Linked DNA regions of Homo sapiens: regions 1 and 3 are each linked to region 2. Evidence: promoter capture Hi-C in human tissues and cell types (Jung and others, 2019). All regions are on one chromosome and are shown on one strand. Each heading gives the region's core, a stretch centred on a gene start or on the middle of the fragment in contact. The rest is flanking DNA. Distances are from core to core; before and after follow the strand shown.

Region 1 (2,948 bases), core at 265-2,764, 220 kb after region 2:
TTGTCTGATTGTATGGAGTGAGGGAGACCAAATATAGGGATGATTTCTGTTGTAAGGATTTGAGAGACTACTGCGGCCTTTTCTGAAGAGGTACGTAATGCCTCTACCCACCCAGAGAAGGTGTCTATAAGAGTAAGAAGAAATTTTGTCTTCTTGACGGGAGGCATGTGGGTGAAGTCTACCTGTCAGTCCTCCTCTGGGAGTGTTCCTCTGAGCTGATGTGTAGGAATAGGAGGAGAGCGGAGGGCCCCTTGGGAGGAAGTAACAGAGCATATATGACAGTTTGAGGTTATGTGTCTTAGTGAGATGAATAGGTGGGGGGAGGAGAAATAAGGGCAAAGGAGTAGGTACAGGAAGTGTGCACCGATATGGAAGGATTGGTGAAGAGATGTTAGAATTTATTTGGTTTGTTCTTGGGGGAGGATGAGCTTTTGACTTTTGATTATCCAGTCCCCTTGAAAGGAGGCTTCTTGCTGTAGTAGCAAAGCCTTCTTGGTGGGGGAGTACCTGGGTTGGATTGCTGGGGTAACAAGGAGGACAGGGGCAGGGGCTGATGAGAGGGAGGCTTCTTTTGCAGCCTCGTTGGCTTTTCTATTCCCTTTTTGATATTTTGTCTCATACTGTTTCACGTCCCTGACAGTATATAACCCCTGCCTAAGTTGGGAGGCATGCAGCCTGGAGGAGCTGGTAAATAAGGGGGCCGTTTTTAACGGGGGTTCCTTTGGCAGTAAGGAATCTCTTTTCTGCCAGATGGTGGTGCGAGAATGAAGAATGTGATCGGTATAATTAGAGTCTGTAAAAATGTTGACCCGTTTGCCTTTTGAGAGGGTTAGGGCCCTAGTGAGAGCTATGAGTTCTGCCTTTTGGGAGGAGGTTCCAGGGGGTAGGGGCTTAGCTTTAACTACTCTGTCAAGCATATCCAGCAATTTTATTGGAATTGACGGACTTGGAGGAGGAGCCATCTATAAATAACTGGTCATCAGGATCAAGAAGAGGTTCCGGGGAGATATTGGGAAAATGATGCAGCAGGTGATCAAGGATTTCAGTACAGGAGTGGATGGGAGAAGAGGAAGACACTGGAGGTAGAGATGCAGGACTGAGGGGAGCATTTTTGGAGAGGCAGAATTCAGGATTCTCAAGAAAAAGAGCATGGAGTAGTTGGATGTGGGAAGGAGAAAAGGTGCTCAGTACTTGGGAGGAGAGAAGATCTTGTAGATTATGTGGGCTATATATGGTGATGTCTTGGCTGAATGTTAGCTTTTTGCTTTCTAAAGCTAGCATGGTGGCTGCTGCTAGGACTCTGAGGCAGGCTGGCCATCCTCAGATGGTGTTGTTTAGTTGTTTAGAAAGGTAAGCTATAGGAGTGAAGGAAGGAGGACTTCCTTTTTGTTGACCGAGGACGCCAAGGGCTATTCCATGGTTTTCAGCTGTGTAGAGGGTGAAAGGCTGAGAGATGTTGGGCAAAGATAGAGCAGAAGCAGTTACAAGAGCTGCCTTTAGTTTGAGGAAGCTGGGGATTATGTTGTGTGAAGGATTTAGGGGCTCATTTGGAGGGCCTTTGGCTGCCTCATAAAGAGGGCAGGCTAGGAGGGCAAAATTAGGGATCTTGCTAGTTCTAAGAAAGAAAGGATTTCTCTTTTGGAGAAGGGTGGACGTAGACTGTCTATCTCCCGTGCTGGGGTCATGGCTTGGGCTCTGAGGGAGAGTTGGACTCCTAAGTTACTGTTGGGGTGGAGAGTTGTGCCTTAGAGGGGGAAACCCTATATTCTTTATCAGCAAGGAAGTTTAGAAGGGCAGTAGTGTGGGTTTGAGAGTCTTTTAGGGAGGGGCTGCAGAGGAGGAGGTCATCCACATACTGAAGGAGCCAGCAAGGGGAGAGGTTTAGCGATGTGAGGTCTTGGGCCAGAGCTTGCCCAAAGAAATGGGGACTATCTCTAAAGCCTTGAGGGAGGACTTTCCAAGTAAGTTGTTGAGACTGGAGGGTTTCAGGGTCAGTCCAGGTGAAAGTAAGAAGATCTCGGGAGTCAGGGTGAAAGGGAATAGCAAAAAAGGCATCTTTCAGATCAATGGCAGTGTAGTAGGTTGTGTTGGAAGGGATAAGGGAAAGGAGTGTATAAGGGTTGGGAACTATTGGGTGGATGGGAAGGACTGCCTGATTGATAGCCTAGAGGTCTTGGACTAGTTGATAGGAGCCATTTGCCTTCTTAACAGGAATTATGGGGGTATTATATGGAGAATGAGTTGGACTGAGAAGGCTGCGCAAAAGGAGTTTGTTTATGATGGGCTGTAAGCCTTTTTGATGAGCTACTGAGATGGGATATTGAGAGATGTTAGGGAATTTGGAGGCGTCTTTTAGCTGGATTTTGATAGGATCGTGGTGTGTAGCTAGGGAAGGGGTAGTAGTATCCCACACTATTGTATTAACCAGAGAAGAGGAGAGTGGATACTGGGGAGAGGGGCCCAGGGCTGGTTCAGTAGCAGAAAGGAGTAGGTGAGAGTCTGGTTGTGGGGAACAGAGGAAGGTAATGGAAGCCTTTAATTTGGTTAGGAGGTTTCTGCCTAGGATGGGGTTAGGGTAACAGGGCATGATAAGAAAAGGGTGTGAGAAAACGGTATGAAATAGGGAACAGGTAAGAGGCTTGGTGGTGCGTGGACTCGAGATGAGTCCATTAACCCCTACAACTGAGACCTGGGAGGGATGAGTTGGTCCTGAGAATTCAGGCATAGTTGAGTAGGTGGCCCCAGTATTGATTTAAAAAAGAGATCGGCTTACCTGCTGCTAGTAGAGTTACCCTGGGCTCTGATGCAGTGAAGGTAGATGGGGCCAGGGGCCCTGGGCCTCGTCAGTCTTCAGTGGCTAGACTAAGGAGCTGTGGGAATGCAAGTGATACTTCACCTTTTGTCTCTCCAAAAGGGTGGTGGTTTTGCAGTACAGGCTTTTCTGTCTG
Region 2 (2,881 bases), core at 36-2,535:
ATTTTTAATAGAGACAGGGTTTCTCCATGTTAGTCAGGCCGGTCTCGAACTCCCGAACTCAGGTGATCCGCCTGCCTTGGCCTCCCAAAGTGCTGGGATTACAGGCGTGAGCCACTGCGCCTGGCCCTTCTTTTGTGTGTGTGAAGGAGTCTTGCTCTGTCACGCACACTTAAGTACGATGGCGCGGTCTCAGCTCACTGCAACCTCCGCCTCCTGGGTTCAACCAATTCTCGTGCCTCAGCCTCCCAAGTAGCTGGGATTACAGGTGCCTGCCACCACACCTGGCTAATTTTTGTATTTTTAGTAGAGACGGGGTTCACGGTGTTGGCCAGGATGGTCTAGAACTCCTGACCACAAGATCCTCCCGCCTAGGTCTCTCAAAATGCTGGGATTACAGGCGTGAGCCACCGCGCCCGACCAGGAATGGGTTTTTAACCCCAACGTAGTTTTTGTTTTTGTGTCCTTCCCCTATTGGCTGGGGTCAGACCGCACAATCTAAGCTGATCCCGGTTGGCTTAGACCCAAACTTTTTCCAAATAGGATAAACGAGCGATTTGCGAGAAAAGGAAAAGGGAGAAAAAGGGGTAGGGTTGTTTTACAACTTTTACAACTTCTGATCAGGAAGTTGAGTCTTTGAAGAGGAATTTAGTTGTCCTAGCAACCCTTTACCTCAAGTGATCCGCCAGCCTTCGCCTCCCAAAATGCTGGGATTACAGACGTCAACCACCGCGCCCGGCCCCATAAATTTTTAACAAAAGAAAAGAGAAACTGTGAACCCCACGGACCAAAGCTCTTCCGAATCGTGAACCCGCACCCCGAGTCAAGATTCTCCCCTGATGACCTTCTCGTGGTTCCCGCACCATCTGGGAGAGACCCGAAGCTGCGGGTGGAGAGCTGCTGCACAGAGAGGGCGCCAGGCCAGGGCACGGTCACTGCGCAGGGAAGAGACAGGACGCCCCGGGACCGGCTGTCAGCGCAGCCACCATCTTATGGCTGAAGGGGACTGAGGCCGAGCTGGGTAAGGAGAAGTCCGGACGCAGATTGTGGAGCTGACTACGGGGAGGCCTGAGTCCCTCCACAGCCACTTCCCATCAACCAGTCCCTCCCCTCTCTCAGGATGTCCAATGGGCACTCTCACCATTTCTAGGCTTCTAAGGGGTCCCGGCATCTTGGCTGTGGATCTCCCAATACCTACAGGACACAGGGCCACAGAGGGTGGGCCTCTAGGAGCAGAGGACACAGAGTAGCGAAGAGGCGACCTAGAGCTCCAGATGCAGCGAGAGACAAAGGCCGCGCCAAACCCGGAAGCCGTCCTCTTTGCTCCAGCTGCCTGCCTGATTGGACGGTTTCCAGCCCAGCGTCTCTGATTGGATAATGCTTAAGGCCCCGCCCACTCAGTCCCTGAGTGACAGAGGATGTGATCAGATGCTGGGCTGAGTGATGAAAGAGTAACAGCCTAAGCTGCAGCCTTTTCAGGCAGGGCTTCCTCCCTGAGCTGAGCCAGGCCCACCCTAGAGCAAGGGAAAATTCTATCTCTTTTTTACTCTCTCTCTTTTTGCATGTATTCAAAAGGTGAACAGAAGTATTTTGCTGTCATATTAATAATACATAAAATTTTTGTTAGAAAATCAACTTTTACTTTGGTAATAGTGTATTATCAATACTAAAGCTAATTTTAATAAAACCTTATATATAAATCAGATTTGTCACTTTTGACCTCTCGAGATTTACACATATATTTCATAATCACTTGTAATTTTTTTAACTTTTTATATTTTATCTACATTCTTTTTTTCAATTTGAAACAACCTTTAAGTAATTTCAAATTGTTACAGGAAATAGAAATCATTTAGAACCAGGCGCAGTGGCTCACGCCTCTAATTCCAGCACTTTGGGAGGCCAAGGTGGGCGGATAACTTGAGTCAGGAGTTCAAGACCAGCCTGGCCAACATGGTGAAACCCCATTTCTACTAAAAATACAAAAAATTATCTGGGTGTGCTGGTGTGCACTTGTAGTCCCAGCTACTCCGGAGGCTGAGGCAAGAGAATCGCTTGAACCCAGGAGGCGGAGGTTGTGTAACAGCCCAAGGGTTTTACCTTGCCTTTTGTCTAGACAGAGCTGATTCATAAAGACAGGCCTTTTGCCTAGACAGAGCCCATTCATCAAGACAGGGGAATTTGTGGAGGAAAAGTTAAATATTAATTTTGAAATAAATTGAACACAGACACAAACAATGGTCACCAAGTCTCAGAACCGGTTGTGTGACCCCCTTGAGGCATTCATTGAGGCATTCATGTAGTGTCATTTCAGAGAAATCTCTGTTTCAATCTATTCCTATATGTTAGTTATTGAAAAACAAGATAACGTTTTTGTGTTCCTTGAGCCCAGTCGCAAAGGGCCCTAGTGACTGGGCCTCATGCCAAACATTTCAGCTCCATCAGGTCATTTATGTTCCTCTCCAAACTGTTTATTCTAGTTAGCAGTTCCTCTAACCTTTTATCAAGGTTCTTAGCTTCTTCAAATTGGGTTCGAACATGTTTCTTTAGCTCAGCAGAGTTTGTTATTAACCATCTTCTGAGGCCTACTTCTGTGAATTCATGCATCTCATCCTCTTATGTTCCTCTCCAAACTGGTTATTCTAGTTAGCAGTTCCTCTAACCTTTTATCAAGGTTCTTAGCTTCTTCAAATTGGGTTCAAACATGTTTCTTTAGCTCAGCAGAGTTTGTTATTAACCGTCTTCTGAAGCCTACTTCTGTGAATTCATGCATCTCATCCTCTTATGTTCCTCTCCAAACTGGTTATTCTAGTTAACAGTTCCTCTAACCTTTTATCGAGGTTCTTAGCTTCTTCAAATTGGGTTTGAACATGTTTCTTTAGCT
Region 3 (2,811 bases), core at 54-2,553, 170 kb after region 2:
AGATGGACATAGAGCTTGAGGCAGCAAGGTCTCTTTTCCTGAGCTGGCTGATTTCAATACAATGAACCAAGGTCTCTGATCTTGAAGCTGGTCCCACAAGACACCCCACCTTCAGCCACCATCTGCTCTGTGCCTCCCATATCCTGTGGGGCCCATGGCAACCCCATGACAATGAGGGAGCACAGGGCACTGGAACTGTGGGCCTGGGGAAGACACAAACACTTTTCTATTTCTCCCAAACTTTCGAGTGTGTTGTCAGATACTTAATTTTGATTATGACTGAGATGTTATGTTCATGTATTTACAACTGTTTAAATGTAATATATTTTGCAAACTGTGGGATAATGTTTTTCACTTTTTTTTTTTTTTCCTCTTCATGTGTTCACAGATGGGTGGCCAACTCTGGAGCCCAGCCTGTTACTGCCCACTCTGGTGGTGAATCCTCCATAGTCTGGTATGGAGGTAAAGTTAAATATTAAATTTGAACTTAATTGAATCTGGACACAAACAATGGTCACCAAGTCCTGGAACAGGTTGTGTGAGCCCCTTGAGGCATTCATCCCGCGCTGTTTCAGAGAAATCTCTAATTCAATCTATTCCTATACATTCATTATTGAAAAACAATAGTCAAGCACAAAAACAAGTTGACCTTTTTGCGTTCCTTGAGCCCATTCGTAAAAGGCCCTCATGACTAAGCCTCATGCCAAAAAACTCATTACAAAAGAGCTAGGGTCCCAGATAGCGCCAAAGCTTCATGAGACCTCTCCTCATCTGTGCGCGGATGAGTGGCCGACTCTGGAGCCCAGGTTGTTTCTTCCCAGTCTGGTGGTGTAAATATATACAGTCTGGTGAGTGTAAACCTTTTCCATTCTCCTCTTCCCATTGCAATTTGCTTATTATGTCTGCAATCTGCTTATTATATTGATTTGCTTATTATATTATTTGTTTATTATATCTGCATTGCCATTTACGTGGTATAAAACTTCTTACCCTTAAAAGTATTGTGTGTGGGTCTTTTCTTCTCCCCTCGCGGGTTTCCTGCACAGAACATTTTTGGTGTCACAAACAGTATTTGGAAACAAAAGTATGCCGCTTTTTGGCCAGAAGGATGGGGCTGGAGGCTCAGGGACTTCCCATGTCTCAGGATGGGAACTCCCCCAGTTTTCCCCCTTGGCAACTGAATGGTCAAGGGGAACTGGCCTTTGTGAGAACTGAGAATCTAAATTAGTGCAATTTAAACCTTTGACTGTGCGGGAAGTGCTGCAGGAGATTCCAGTCAGCAAAGGAGATGCTGAGGGATCTCCCAGAGTGGATGGTGTTTGCTTACTGCTTATAAGTTAATGTGTCAAGATACGGGCTGGTTGCTATAAGAGAAATGTAAGTTGGAAAAGGAAAATGCCAGTGTGATTTCCAGACTGGCCCTGGCCCAATGCCAGGCCTATATCTTGACTGATCAGGCTCAAAGCTATCACCCTATTGCTGAAAAAAAGCAGCTGTCAGAATGACTCGGTCAGGTTAAAACTGAAGAACTACTTTGCTGGGGCTTGGAGCAGGTAAAAACCCAGCTCCTATCTCAAGGATGGGAAATTAAGCTTAGCAAAATTCAAGGACCTGCACAAACTGTAAAATACCTTGGCATCCTATGGAATGCAGAGATATAGTCCATCTTACAAAAGGTAAAGGGGCTAAAATACTAGAATTTGCAACCCCTACCACTAAAAAGGAGGCCCAGACATTTATTGACATCTCTGGATTCTGGAGACATCATATTCCTCACTTGAGTAATATTTTACAACCTCTGCATGCAGCCACTAGAAAACACTATGACTTTCATTGGGGAGAGACAGACAGCATGGCTTCTGAACAAGATAAACAAGCGGTGCAACTGGCCCTGGATCTATGGTCCATACAGGATGGGCCAGGAGAACTGCAAGTAACTGTCCTAGATCAACAGGCTAATTGGAGCCTTAGAAACAAGATGGGAAGAGGGTACCTTTCAGGTTTTGGACCCAGAAACTGCCAGAGGCCAGAAAAGCTTATACCCCTTTCGAGAAGCAATTGTTAGCTTGCTATTGGGCTTTGCTGGAAATGGAACACCTCTGCTTCAACCATGATGTCTTTATGAGGCCCGAAATTCCTATTATGACTTGGGACTTGAGTTCCCCCAAAACCCATCAGATAGGACATGTCCAAGAAAGTAGCATCATAAAATGGACATGGTACATACAAGACCAGGCTAAGTCAAAACCAAAGTGAGTATCACTTTTACATAAGGATGTACAAAATCTCCCAGCTCAGGAAACCACCGAGCAAGTCCTGCAGATAGGGAAGGAAACCTCCCCCACCCAATGGGGCAAATCCTTTAAAGAACTAAGCCCAGAGGATCAGAAACATGCTTGGTTTACTGATGCATCCACCAAATACATTGGTGGGAATCAATGCTGGAAGGCTGTGGCTTATAATCCTATTAAAAACAAAAGCATTTCTGATGAAGGAAGGGGTGGGAGCAGCCAGTTAGCTGAACTAGTAGCGGTTCCCCTGAGCTATTCAGAAGGAGACCAGAGGGATTTTTCACTTCTATACCAACTCTTGGTCAATACCAAATGGTCTTACTACCTGGATGCCCCAGGCAACAAAGCAAATGGTTAATTGGGAATAAAGAGGTTTGGGGAAAACAATACTGGGGAGATATCTCAATCCTAGCACACACTACCATTATCACTGGTTTTTTGTTTTGTTTTGTTTTGTTTTTTGTTTTTTTTTTTGAGATGGAGTCTAGCTCTGTCACCATTCTGGAGTGCAGTGGCACAA

What was found. The method cuts DNA at HindIII sites, captures the fragments that hold promoters and counts their contacts. A contact is called where the count stands out against the background at its distance.
Region 1: a contact is called between a fragment that was not itself captured here and the fragment with the promoter of ZNF486 in region 2, in 1 of the 25 tissues and cell types used here (H1 embryonic stem cells).
Region 3: a fragment that was not itself captured here is called in contact with the fragment with the promoter of ZNF486 in region 2 in 1 of the 25 tissues and cell types used here (mesendoderm cells).

What each region holds. Positions count from the first base shown.
Region 1 is chr19:19,946,317-19,949,264 of GRCh38, reverse strand. It overlaps the pseudogene BNIP3P12. Among named protein-coding and RNA genes, the nearest start is that of ZNF93, 47 kb to the right of the region's middle. The HindIII fragment of the contact is 6,290 bases long and covers 1-2,948 here.
Region 2 is chr19:20,165,618-20,168,498 of GRCh38, reverse strand. ZNF486 (zinc finger protein 486) reads right to left here and starts at 1,285. Exons shown (of 4, transcript NM_052852.4): 1 at 1,139-1,285. The coding sequence starts at 1,168. The region is part of intron 5 of LOC105372310 (a long non-coding RNA gene); the gene reads left to right. RefSeq lists an enhancer at 1-703. The HindIII fragment of the contact is 10,632 bases long and covers 1-2,881 here.
Region 3 is chr19:19,993,318-19,996,128 of GRCh38, reverse strand. It overlaps the pseudogene BNIP3P12 and a transcript of ZNF682 not described here. Among named protein-coding and RNA genes, the nearest start is that of ZNF682, 45 kb to the left of the region's middle. The HindIII fragment of the contact is 4,940 bases long and covers 1-2,811 here.